2 separate regions of the Homo sapiens genome follow, and region 1 is linked to region 2. Evidence: promoter capture Hi-C in human tissues and cell types (Jung and others, 2019). All regions are on one chromosome and are shown on one strand. Each heading gives the region's core, a stretch centred on a gene start or on the middle of the fragment in contact. The rest is flanking DNA. Distances are from core to core; before and after follow the strand shown. Region 1 has its middle 49 kb from the start of SLFN11. Region 2 holds the start of SLC35G3 (solute carrier family 35 member G3).

What was found. Contacts are between HindIII fragments. The study calls those that stand out against the background at their distance.
Region 1: a fragment that was not itself captured here is called in contact with the fragment with the promoter of SLC35G3 in region 2 in 1 of the 25 tissues and cell types used here (H1 embryonic stem cells).

The regions. Positions count from the first base shown.
Region 1 is chr17:35,321,128-35,328,174 of GRCh38, forward strand. No RefSeq gene overlaps it. Among named protein-coding and RNA genes, the nearest start is that of SLFN11, 49 kb to the right of the region's middle. The HindIII fragment of the contact is 7,056 bases long and covers 1-6,315 here.
Region 2 is chr17:35,189,093-35,195,864 of GRCh38, forward strand. SLC35G3 (solute carrier family 35 member G3) reads right to left here and starts at 5,301. Exons shown (of 1, transcript NM_152462.2): 1 at 3,428-5,301. The coding sequence starts at 5,215. The coding sequence ends at 4,199. It overlaps UNC45B (unc-45 myosin chaperone B), which reads left to right. Exons shown (of 20, transcript NM_001267052.2): 20 at 1-251. It also overlaps the pseudogene SPICP2. The HindIII fragment of the contact is 5,493 bases long and covers 1,806-6,772 here.

The sequences.
Region 1 (7,047 bases), core at 1,538-4,037, 130 kb after region 2:
TAAAGGCTATATGTGACAAACCTACAGTTAATATGATAATATTACATTTCCAGCAGGAGTGTAAAAGTATTTCCTTTTCACCACATGCATGCCAACATCTGTTAATTTTTTATTTTTAATTATGGCCATTCTTGCAGGTGTAAGGTCATCTTGTTGTGGTCTTAATTTGCATTTCCCTGTCCATTAGTGATGTTGAGCATATTTTCATATGTTTGTTGGCCATTCGTATATCCTCTTTTGAGAATTGTCTATTCATATCCTTTGTCCACTTTTTGATGGGATTCTTTGTTTTTTTCTTGCTGATTTGTTTGAGTTCCTTGTAGATTCAGGATATTAGTCTTGTCAGATGCATAGTTTGAAAATATTTTCTCCCACTCTGTGGGTTGTCTGTTTACTCTGCTGATTATTTCTTTTGCTGTGCAGGAGGTTTTAGTTTAATTAGGTCTGATCTATTTATTTTTGTTTTTGTTGCATTTGCTTTTGTGTTCTTGGTTATAAACTCTTTGCCTAAGCCAATGTCCAGAAGTGTTTTTCTGGTGTTATCATCTAGAATTTTAATGGTTTCAGGTCTTAGATTTAAGTCTTTAATTCATTTCCTTTTCCCTAGAGACAATCAAGCTTTCGATGATCATGTGATGAGGTTTCCAGTCAGTTCCAGGTGAAGACACCACTGGCCATCAAGAAGCTACCCTCTCCCCACCAGACAGAGCAGGATGAGAGTTCTATAATCCTCAATAGGTAGGGACGGTGCTCCAAGTCAGCATGAAGCAGTTACAGAAGAAAGACCCTCAGTCCCCCTGCCTCCCATAAAGATTTATGGGGATCACATCTCTCAGAGGGGAAATGCACAGGAGAACTGGGCCTGGAGGCAGAGAACCTAACCCCACCTCTCCACACCCAAGTAGTAAAGGGATCAGAGGCTACTTTCTTTGTAACTCTCCCCATCTTTTCTGCATTGCAGATGAAAAATGAAAGTACCTCTGATTGGCCAAGTCTTCATGTATAACTTTGTAACTTTACTTCAGACTCTGATTGGTCACCTTCCACAACCATTCAGACTGGTTATGGGCCATTATTTCATTTACATAGGGTGTAAAGCAAATAACCAATGGGAAACCTCTTGAGGGTATTTAAACTCCAGAAAATTCTGTAACCCCTGCTCTTGAGCCACTTGCTTCAGCCCACTCCCATTCTGTGGAGTGTAGTTTCATTTAAATAAATCTGTGCTTTTCTTTCATTGCTTTGTGCATTTTGTCCAATTATTTGTTCAAAACACCAAGAACCTGGACACCCTCCACTGGTAACATCATCAGTAATAATTATGATTATTATTTTAAATTGCATGCCACAGAAATAACCAAATTTCCTTGTCAACTGTGTCTTTGACTACGGCTATCCTAAGACTTTTTTCATCCACAAATGTTGTCTTGCTGTGATCCTTCCAAAAAACGTTACTAATAATCAGCTACAGTCCAAGTCTTGTTTCTTTGGAGGAGTTCATTAAAAGGACTCTTGAATGCAGGTTTCTGATAACTTTGCAGATTGTACCATTAGATCAGAGAGAAAACTTTCACTGCACTTATTGAAAGGCTGATATGTTCATAAAGATTGCTAATGCAATATGAAGCAGAGTGAGAGTTGATTGCATTGACAGAACTAATGGAGGACTGAAATAATTTTTATGGCTTTTTTTGTTTGAAATATTGCTGATTCTTTTTGTTTTGTTTTTTGGAGTCTGAAGAATTGTTTTCTTTTGAGCTATTTATAAACTTGAAACATATTTTAAGTGTATTAAGTAAATATACGTTTGTAAACAGAATTTGAGTCATATTTTTCTCTCTGCCTAATTTCTCCAGAATTTGTAAACTATTTGTAAATATTCTTAATTCACAGCAATGTATTTGATTGCATATGGTTCATAACAACATGTTTTTGATGCAGGATATTTTCTTGATGCCTTTGTGGGACTTGTGACTGGAGTGCCTTGTATACTCAGTCCACTGTGCTCAACCCCTTGCAGGAGGAAGCACTCAATTGAACAAGTGCAGGAACCAGCTGGCTGCCTCAGCACTGACAGAAGCAAATTCCATTTGCTTGGACCCACTGCATTCCATCCCTTGTGGAAGAGAGCATGTAAGCAAGTGAGTGCAGGAACTGGCTGGCTGCTTTGGTGCTGGCAGGAGCAAACACCATGAAGGCCCCATGGCAGAGTCCAGGTAGGGGTGCCTGCAACCCCAAGGCCCCAGAGGGAATGTTACAGTGCTCTCTTAGCTCCACCTTTCACAGATAGCACTGTGTTATCAGCTCAGTGGGCCCTTTGACTCATCAATGGGGCTGCTGCCCTCTGCCAGTGAGAGCAAAGGGCCAGTGTGACAGCCCTTTTGGGTACCTGCACTTGGTGGGTCCCCAATTTTTGTCCAGTGCCAAAGAAGAATGAGGTTGGCCAGGCGTGGTGGCTCATGCCTGTAATCCCAGAACTTTGGGAGGGCAAGGTGGGTGGATCACAAGGTGAGGAGTTCAAGAGCAGCCTGGCCAACATGGTGAAACCCCGTCTCTACTAAAAAAAAAAAATACAAAAAATAGCCGGGCATGGTGGCACACACCTGTAATCCCAGCTGCTCAGGAGGCTGAGGCAGAAGAGTTGCTTGAACCCAGGAGGTGGGGGTTGAAGTGAGCCGAGATCGCGCCACTGTACTCCAGCCTGGTGACAGAGCAAGACTCCATCTGAGTAAAAAAAAAAAAGCAAGAATGAGGTCAGGTCACACAGATGAAGGATGGTGAAGGTGGAGTTTACTGAGTGATGAAAGTGGCTCTCAGTAGAGAGAAGAGCTGGCAAGGTGGCAAAGGGATGGGAAGGGCAGGTTTCTCTCTCCTGAAGTCAAGTCACCACTCTGCCTCTCTCCTCCAAAGTCAAGTTGCCTCTCTGTGACATCCAGCCATCATCTATGTAGTCAATTCATCTTTCCCCAATGTCCAGCCACTTCTTCTCCCTCCTGGTTGAGGGAGGGAGGTTGAGGTCTTTATAGGCACAGGATGGGTATGGGCAGGCCATAGGTAGTTTTGGAAAAGGCGACATTCCATTGGTAAAGATATTATTCAGAAAGAACCAATCAGGAGAGAGTAGGCAAACAGGAATAGAAGTTCTCACTTTGGGCAGTGGGTTTAAGGATATTTCTGGCTTGAAGGTGGGATTTCCACTGGGGACCCTCCCCTGTCTGCTTAGAGTTTCTCTGCTTCCAAAGATTGTGTTTCAGAAGAAAAGTCTATATTAGATTAACGTCTGATTCTTGGGCAGCCACGTGGTCACCCATGGTATGGAGCTGCCTATGACACCCCTCCTCAGCATGAAGCAGCCAGAAAGATTGATGACCAGATTCCTCATGTCTGAGGAATTGATAAATAGAAAGTGGGGGCTGAAACTGACCCAATAGTCTCATAGACTGATCTTTTTGATAAACATAGAAATTGACCCTTCTGGTCTTAAAGCTTGAAACTTATATTTGTTTTATCTGCATTCCTTCCTCAGGACAGGACCTTCAGGCCTCTGAAAAAAAAAGGATCAAAGAACTGAAACTCACCAGATCACCTCACCAGATGCTGGACCCCTCATTCACCATGTTTGCTTCCTTGCCTCTCCCTAGTTCTTATTTTCTTACACATTGTTACATTTCTTCCCTGCTATATCAACCCCTAGTTCTAGTCAGTCATGGAGATGGATTTGAGACTGATCTCCCATCCCCTCAGCTACACCACCTGATTAAAGCCTTCTTCCTTGGCAATAATCATTGTCTCAGTCATTGGCTTTCTGTGCAGGGAGCAGCAGGACCTAGACTAAACCCCTGGTGTTTTGGTAACAAAATAAGGCCAGGCACAGAAAGACAAACATCACATGTTCACACTTATTTGTGGGATCTAAATACCAGAACAATTGAACTCATAGAGATAGAGAGTAGAAGGATTATTACCAGAGGCTGGGAAGTGTGGTTGAAGGAGTTGGTGGGCAGTGGGGATGTAGAATGTGTCCAAAAAAAGGAATAGAATGAAGAAGTCCTAGTATTTGATAGCACAACAGGGTGACTATAGTCAATAATCATTTAACTGTACATTTTAAAATAACTTAAAAGGTGTAATTGGGTTGTTTGTAACACAAATGATAAATGCTTGAAGGAATTGCTACTCCATTTTCCATGATGTGATTATTGTGCATTGCATGCCTGTATCAAAATGCCTCATGTACCTCATAAATATATATACCTACTATGTACCCACAAAAATTTTTTAAGAAAATATACCACTGCTTTTCCATTTGTCAAGTGAAAAACTTCTGGGTTATTTCCAGGTTTTGACTATTATGAATAGAGCTATTAAGAATAATAAAATACCATGGCCAGCATACTGAATGGGGAAAAGTTGAAAGCATTCCTCCTGAGAACTGGAACAAGGCAATGATGCCCTTTCACTGTTTTTTTTTTTTGTTTGTTTGTTTGTTTGCAGCTATTGTACAAGGGGTTGATTTCTTGATTTGATTCTCCCCTTGGTCGCTGCTGATGTATAGAAGAGCTATTAATTTGTGTACATTAATGTTGTATCTGAAAACTTTGCTGAATTATCAGTTCTAGGAGCTTTCTGGAGGAGTCTTTAGGGTTTCCCAGGTAAATGATCATATCATCAGCAAACAGGGACATTTGAGTCCCTCTTTATTGATTCGGATGTCCTTTATTTATTTCTCTTGTCTGATTGCTCTGGCTAGGACTTCCAGTACTATGTTGAGGAGTGGTGAGAGTGGGCATCTTTGTTTTGTTTCAGTTCTCAGAGGGAATGCTTTCAACTTTTCCCCACTCGGTATTATGTTGGCTGTGACTTTGTCATAGATGGCTTTTAATATATTGAGGTATATCTCTTATATGCCAATTTTGCTGAGAGTTTTAATAGTAAAGTGATGCTGGATTTTGTCAAATGCTTTTTCTGCATCTATTGAGATGATCACATGGTTTTTGTTTTTAATTTTGTTTATGTGATGTATCACTTTTTTTTTTTTAGACAGAGTTTTGCTCTTGTTGCCCAGGCTGGAGTGCAATGGCCCAATCTTGGCTCACCGCAACCTCTGCCTCCTGGGTTCAAGCGATTCTCCTGCCTCAGCCTCCCGAGTAGCTGGGATTACAGGCATGTACCACCATGCCTGGCTAATTTTGTAATTTTTTTCTAGTAGAGATGAGGTTTCTCCATGTTGGTCAGGCTGGTCTCGAACTCTCAACCTCAGGTGATCCACCCACCTCGGCCTCCCAAAGTGCTGGGATTACAGGGGTGAGCCATCGCACCCAGCTGTGTCACATTTATTGACTTGCATATATTAAACCATCCCTGCATCCCTGGTATGAAACCCACTTGGTCATGGTGGATTATCTTTCTGATATGTTCTTGAATTTGGTTAGCTAGAATTTTGTTAAGGATTTTAGCATCTAATGTTCTTTATGGATATTGGTCTGTAGTTTTCTTTTTGATTATGTCCTTTCCTGGTTTTGGTATTAGGGAGATACTAGGTTCATAGAATGACTTAGGAAGGGTTCTCTCTTTCTCTGTCTTGTGGAATAGTGTCAAAAAGATTGTTACCAATTCTTCTTTGAATGTCTGGTAGAATTCTGCTGTGAATCCGTCTGGTCCTGGACCCTTTTTTTTGTTGGTAATTTTTAAATTACCATTTCAATCTTACTGCTTGTTATTGGTCTGTTCAGGACATCTAATTTTTCCTGATTTAAGCTAGGAGGGTTGTGTCTTTCCAGGAATTTATCCATCTCTTCTAGGTTTTCTAGTTTACGCATGCAAAGGTGTTCATAGTAGCCTTGAATGATCTTTCACATTTCTGTGGTGTCAGTTGTAATCTCTTCCGTTTCGTTTCTTACTGAGCTTATTTGGATTTTCTCTCTTCTTGGTTAATCTTGCTAATGGTATATCAATTTTATTTATCTTTTCAAAGAACTAGCTTTTTGTTTTATTTATCTTTTGTATTTTTTTGTTTTAATTTCATTTAGTTCTGCTCTGATCTTGGTTATTTCCTTCCTTTCTTCTGGGTTTGGGTTTGATTTGTTCTTGTTTCTCTTGTTCCTTGAGGTGTGACCTTAGATTGCCTGTGCTCTTTCAGATTTTTTGATGTAGGCATTTAGGACGATGAAATTTCCTCTTAGCATCACCTTTGCTGTGTCTCAGAGGTTTTGATAGGTTGTGTCACTATTGTCATTCAGTTCGAAGACTTTTTAAATTTTCATCTTGATTTCATTTTTGACCCAATGTTCATTCAAGAGCAGGTTATTTAATTTCCATGGTTTTGAAGGTTCCTTTTGAAGTTTATTTCCAGTTTTATTCCACTGTGGCCTGAGAGAGTGCTTGATATAATTTCAATTTTCTTAAATTTATTGAGGCTCATTTTGTGGCTATCATATGGTCTATCTTGGAGAAAGTTCCATGTGCTGTTGAATAGAATGTGTATTCTGCAGTTGTTGCATGGAATGTTCTGTATATATATGTTGAGTCCATTTGTTCCAGGGTGTAGTTTAAATCCATTGTTTCTTTGTTGGCTTTCTGTCTTAATGACCTGTCTAGTGCTGTCAGCGGAGTATTGAAGTTCCTCAGTGTTACTTTGTTGCTGTCTATCTCATTTCTTAGATCTATTAGTAATTGTTTCATAAATTTGGGACCTCCAGTGTTAGGTGAATGTATGTCTAGTATTGTGATAGTTTCCTGTTGGACAAAGCCTTTTATCATTATATAATGTCCCTCTTTGTGCTTTTTTTTATTATTATACTTTAAGTTCTGGGATACAAGTGCAGAATGTGAAGGTTTGTTACATAGGTATACACGTGCCATGGTGGTTTGCTGCACCCATCAACCCATCATCTACACTAGGTATTTCTCCTAATACATCCCTCCCCTAGCTCCCCACCCCCTAACAGGCCCCGTTGTGTGATGTTCCCCTCTCTGTGTCCATGTGTTCTCATTGTTCAACTCCCACTTATGAGTGAGAACATGTAATGTTTGGTTTTCTGTTCCTGT
Region 2 (6,772 bases), core at 4,051-6,550:
TATCTTAGAGGTATGTTTCTTAGTTTCCCAACATATAATGGGAAAATTCATCATTTATATTATTACTTTTAACTGAAGTATGTTGTTATCAGAGAACTTGGTCTGTGTCATATTAATCCTTTGCCATTTGAGAAGCATACAGTTTTAAAGTTTATATCTCCAAAAGGATATTTTGTAAAAATTTAACCCCTTTGACTCTTAGTCTTCTCATTTGTGAAAGGTAAATAATAAAGAATTTCTGTTCCTAGTAAGAGTAACTTGTGGCAAAACAATACCATGACATACAAAAATTGAAAAACTGGGCAAAACTTAAACAATCTGTTTAAGGCACCGAGAGCCATTAAGGCAGTGAGACCAACAAAAAGGGAAGCACCAAGGAGGAAGCTTAACTTTTTGGTAAAGTTGATTCCATTTGGGATGTTTGCCAATTTGTTAGCAGAGGTTGTGAGTCACAGAGGTTTAAGTGTCTGAGACACCATTTACTAAACTGTTAAAAGAAGAAATAGAAAATTTGAATAGTATGATACCTATTGGAGAAATTACGTTTGTAATAACAACAACGATGGTAAGGAAAGCCTTCCCACAAAGAAAACTCAGGCCCATTTAGTTTCACTGGTGAATTCTACAGGCATTTAAGAAAGAAACAATGCCATTCTTTTGTTTTCTTTTGTTTTTCGAGACAGGGTCTCACTCTGTCACCCAGGCTGGAGTGCAGTGGCGTGATCACGGCTCACTGCAGCTTCAACCTCCTGGGCTCAAGCGATCCTCCCACTCAGTCTCCTGAGTAGCTGATATTCACTGTTAGTCCTCCAACTTAATGTTTTTTTCTTTTCCTTTTTAAAAACTTTTTTTTTATATAGAAATGGAGATTCACTATGATATTATAGGTGCATCAAGTATTTTTATTTTTTATTTTTTGTAAAGACCAGGCTGGTCTTGAACTCCTGGGCTCAAATAATCCTCTCACCTCAGCCTCGCAAAGCGTTGGGATTACAGGTGTGTGCCACCGCGTCTGGCCAAAACAGTACCAGTCTTATGCAAACCCTTCCAAAGAAGATAAAAGAAAGGACACTTTCAGCTCTTTTTATGAGGATAGCTTGATAGCAAAACTTAACAAAGACATATAGGAAAATTGTAGACCAGTATCTTTTATGACTATAGGTACAAAATCCTTTACTAAATACTAGCACCCCAAATCCACCAATATATAAAAAGATAACACATTAATCAAGTTATGTTTATTCTAAGAACAATAAGTTGGTTAATATGAGACTATCAACCAATATAATGTACTACATCAACAGAATAAAGAATAAAATAATGACTATCTCAATAGACGTAAGAAAAGTTTTTGATAAAATTCAGTAACAATTCATGATAAAACTCTTCAGTAAACTAAAAATAGAAAGAAGCTTCCTTAATGTGATAAAGTTTATCTGTATAAAATCTATAGCCACTGTGATATTTAATTATCCCGAGATTAAGAATGAGATAACAGTACTTGCTATTACCAATTGTATTCAACTTTGTACCGAAGAGCGTAGCTAGTACAAAAAGGCAAGAAAAGGCAATGAAAATCATAAAATTGGCCAAACGTGACAGCTGTTACAATGGCAGGTTACAGGTTAGCCAAGCGGGAGGCAGACATGTGTTTCAGGGGAGGGGAAGGCTATTTCCACCATATGCAAGTGGATGCTGCATTGGACACTGATGGGCAGAACCATCATGCTGGAAAATAATTTTTTATTTTCATGACAGCCTACCATTGAATTTACAATTCTGATATTAATGAAATATCTCTATAAAGGGTTGAAGTGTCTTCCTGCAACAATTGCCAAGGAACAAAATTGTCAATTTATTAATGAAACATGACGTGTGTTGAACAAGACAAGCTGGGTCAAGCATTTGAGGATGCTTTTGAGGCACTGAGGCAACATTCAACTGGAGATCTTTAGTACTCGCCAGATTACAAAAATTACCTGGCTTTAATCAATTATTGTCCTCACGTCAAAGGAAATTCCAGCTGCTATGGAGTGTTGCCTACAGAGGAACCTCTCTGTAATTGGAGAACGGTAATCAACAGTGCTGCGGACTTCTATTTTGAAGGAAACATTCATCAGTCTCTGCAGAACATAACTGAAAACCAGCTGGTACAACCCACTATTCTCCAGCAAAAGTGGGGAAAAGGCAGGAAGAAGCTTAGACTGTTTGAATACCTTCACGAATCCCTGTGTAATCCGGAGATGGCACCTTGTATTCAGTGGGTAGATAAAATCAAAGGCATCTTTCCGTTTGTATCAAAAAACAAAGGAAAACTTGCCGAGCTTTGGCGGAAAAGAAAAGGCCGTTGGAAGACCATGACTTATCAGAAAATGGCCAGGGCACTGAGAAATTATGGAAGAAGTGAGGAAATTACCAAAATCCGGAGGAAGCTGACTTACCAGTTCAGTTAGGCCACTCTCCAAAGACTCTCTCCATCTTATTTCTTGGGGAAAGAGATCTTTCCCCAAGTGTGTTAAACCTGATCAGGAATATCTCAGTTTAAATAACTGGAATGCAAATTATAATTATACATATGCCAATTACCATGAGCTAAATCACCATGATTGCTAAATATACTCTCATATTTCATGGTTTCCTGGCATTGGAAGTCCCTACAGTTTTAAGGATTTCTCACTCTCTGTCTCTTTTTTCCTTCCTCTGAAGGAGTTTAGGATTTTTCTCTTAAAGCAAACACTAAAGAGAAAAAAAACCAAGTAACTTTATTTGCTGCTTTTATCAAAGAGCATGTAATCTATACTAACTCAGTGGGAAATTCTGCCAATGAGCAGCTTTTTTTTTAATACTCTATGAAGATTCAATGAAAAACTTTATTGTTTCAAATGATTAAGTCCATTTGAAACTATAGACTAAATGTCCTTGCTCTGCTCTTACTATTCTCTCTAATTTTTTTATTTTATTATTTTTTAAAAGAGGTCTCAGCCAAGACAATTTTAAATTTTTATGGATTTAGGAGTACAAGTGCAGTTTTGTTGCATGGATACATTGCGTAGTGGTAAAGCATATTGCATAGCATCCTCATCATCAGAATAGTGAACATTGTACCCAATAGGTAGGATTTCATCCCTCATCCCCCACCCATCTGCCCACCTTTTGGAGCCTCCGGTGTCTATTACTCCACTCTGTATGTCCATTGCTAAGCCCCCAACTATACTCATTTTATTTTATTTTAAAACTTGTTTTCTTTTTCTGCATACTTCAATGGATGCAAACTCTTTTCATTTTTTCTTTTCCTTTCACAGACAGTGACTTCATTTTTTTTTTTTTTTTTTGCTGCTAACTCCCAAGCACAACACAGTGACTTATGTTTTTAATTTTTTTAAGAGGCAAAGCCTACCTCTGAAGCTCCTTTTTTTTTTCTTTTCCTACTTCAATAAGCTGGTCTACATTCTTACTCTTCTCTATGCAACCACTTTCTTCTAGATTAACAGTGCTAGTACAGATGATTTGATTTATACATTGATTTCAGCATTTTCTTTTCATGTACTCAGGTGAGGAAAATCACTCTTTTATATCCAATGACTTTACAAAAAATCATTTACAAAGAAGTGACTGCATATGATAAAATATTTGTGCCAAAATAAATTCATGGCTTTTAAAATGTCATAGAAATGTCTATTCAGGTATCTTTTTTTTTTTTTTTCACATTCACTGTAATCCTTGTTTGATGTCAATGTCACGTCACCACCCCAAGCGGGGGGCACAAGCACGAGGAAAGGAAACCTTCCCCGTGAGGGGAGGGGTGGGGAGGCACGCTTCCCTCCCCCAGCGCAGCTGCTGGCTCTGTCTTTGCCGGAACACTCCAGCCCCAATGCTCTTCTCTTTGCTGCTGAGTGAAGTCCTCCCCATGGCCCACGGCCTCCCTGCCTCAGCCCTTTGGATCTGCTCCTCAGACTTTACCCCTTAGTTATGCCCTGATTCTAGGACCCAGCCTGGACTCCACATCCCTTGGTCCCAGGCTGGCCCCAGGTCTTCCACGTAGTCCCTCTCCACCAAGTCCCCAAGTCACCCTTGACTCTGAGAGGTATCCCTCTCCCACACCAGTTCTTTTCCAGTCACTTCTCCTCCCATGTTTGTCTTCAGTCTTTGCCTTTATTTATCCCTGTCCCTCCCAACCCCCGGGCTCCCAAGTTCTATCTCACTCCTCCACCCTCCCTGTCCTCTCACAGCTGAGGTTCTGGGCTGTAATGATGGCAATGCTGCCCAGCACAACCCCTGCCGCCACGATGTCAGAAGGTGCCACAGTCTCATGGAGCATATAATACTGCAGTATAAGGGCCACAACCACCTCGGAATGTAGGACAGCGCACACCAGGGCAGGGTGGGCCTTGGTGACCGCATAGCCCACACATGTGAAGGAGACCAAGGCGAGGATCCCCACTGCCCCCACACAACTCCAACTCAGGAGGTCACTGGGCAACACGGGGGCCTGCAGCACAAAGAGGCCTGGCACAGAGCCCAGCAGCCCCACCAAGCCAGATAGGAAGGCCACTGTTGGGAGGCAGGGGGGAAAGTGCAGAGAACGATAGACCAGAAGCCTCAGGGACAGCGCCAGGCCTCCCAGGAAAGCCTCCACATAGCCCAGGGCGGTGTAGACACCCGTGGTCCCCTCCTGTAGTGTCCAGAGTCCAGGTCCCACAATGATGATTAGTCCTAGGATGCAGCCCAACAGTCCACACCAGTCGTAGCCACTGAGACCCTGGCTCTCAAGGCAGAGAGTGAGGACGGCGGAGCAGACGGTGGAAGAACCTTTGCGAACAGTGGCAGCGTTGCCAGCGGGCACCACCTGAACCGCACTGTAGGCACATCCAATGCTGAGGATGTTGAGCAGGGCACAGAAGAAGGCCCGGCTTCGGATGTCAGGAGTTCCCAGAAGGGGGTCGCCACGCAGTTTAAGTAGCAGGGCAATAGGGAGGTGGAAGAGGCATCGCCAGATGAGCAGCTCCAGCGAGGGCAGGTTGGAAGCCTGGTAAGCCATACGAGAAAGGGGGCCCACGAAGCCAGCAGGCAGGCCCCCACCCAGCAGGGCCACCAGCAGGCCACTGGTGGCATCAGAGGGCTGGCAGCGCTGGTACCAGCGGAGGCTGGGTGGAGCGGAGGGCGGCGATGGGTGTGTGGAGTCAGGCTGGTTGAAATAGGGGTGACTGCCAGCCATCTTTCCTTGGACTTTCTCCTCTCCTCCTGGCTCAGGGAGCCTGGGCCCCTCAGAGCTCCAGCCATTGTGACCTCATTGGAGTGGGGGTGGGATTCTTCCCTGGAACTCTCCTGAGGTGGTAGCACGCCTATTTTCCCACTGAGTCCAACTCTGCTTCTTTTCTTTCTTTTTTTGTTTTTTGTTTTTTTTTATTGATCATTCTTGGGTGTTTCTCGCAGAGGGGGATTTGGCAGGGTCATAGGACAATAGTGGAGGGAAGGTCAGCAGATAAACAAGTGAACAAAGGTCTCTGGTTTTCCTAGGCAGAGGACCCTGCGGCCTTCTGCAGTGTTTGTGTCCCTGGGTACTTGAGATTAGGGAGTGGTGATGACTCTTAACGAGCATGCTGCCTTCAAGCATCTGTTTAACAAAGCACATCTTGCACCGCCCTTAATCCATTTAACCCTGAGTGGACACAGCACATGCCCCAGAGAGCACAGGGCTGGGGGCAAGGTCACAGATCAACAGCATCCCAAGGCAGAAGAACCCTTCCCAGTACAGAACAAAATGAAGTCTCCCATGTCTACTTCTTTCTACACAGACACAGCAACAATCTGATTTCTCTATCTTTTCCCCACCTTTCCCCCTTTTCTATTCCACAAAACCACCACCGTCATCATGGCCCGTTCTCAATGAGCTGTTGGGTACACCTCCCAGACGGGGTGGTGGCCGGGCAGAGGGGCTCCTCACTTCCCAGAAGGGGCGGCCGGGCAGCGGTGCCCCCCACCTCCCGGACGGGGCAGCGGCCGGGCGGGGGCTGACCCCCCACCTCCCTCCCAGACGGGGCAGCTTGCCCGGCGGGGGCTGCCCCCCACCTCCCTCCTGGACGGGGCGGCTGCCGGGCAGAGAAGCTCCTCACTTCCCAGACGGGGCGGCTGCCGGGTGGAGGGGCTCCTCACTTCTCAGACGGGGCGGCTGCCGGGCGGAGGGGCTCCTCACTTCTCAGATGGGGCAGCTGCGGGGCGGAGGGGCTCCTCACTTCTCAGATGGGGCGGCCGGGCAGAGACGCTCCTCACCTCCCAGATGGGGTCGCGGCCAGGCAGAGGCGCTCCCCACATCTCAGACGATGGGCCCCCGGGCAGAGACGCTCCTCACTTCCTAGACGGGATGGCGGCCGGGAAGAGGCGCTCCTCACTTCCTAGATGGGATGGCGGCCGGGAAGAGGCGCTCCTCACTTCCCAGACTGGGCAGCCGGGCAGAGGGGCTCCTCACATCCCAGACAATGGGCGGCCAGGCGGAGACGCTCCTCACTTCCCAGGCGGGGTGGCGGCTGGGCAGAGGCTGCAATCTCGGCACTTTGGGAGGCCAAGGCAGGCGGCTGGGAGGTGGAGGTTGTAGCTAGCCGAGATCACGCCACTGCTCTCCAGCCTGGGCAACATTGAGCACTGAGTGAATGAGACTCCGTCTGCAATCCCGGCACCTCGGGAGGCCGAGGTTGGCAGATCACTCGTGGTTAGGAGCTGGAGACCAGCCTGGCCAACACAGCGAAACCCCGTCTCCACCAAAAAAATACGAAAA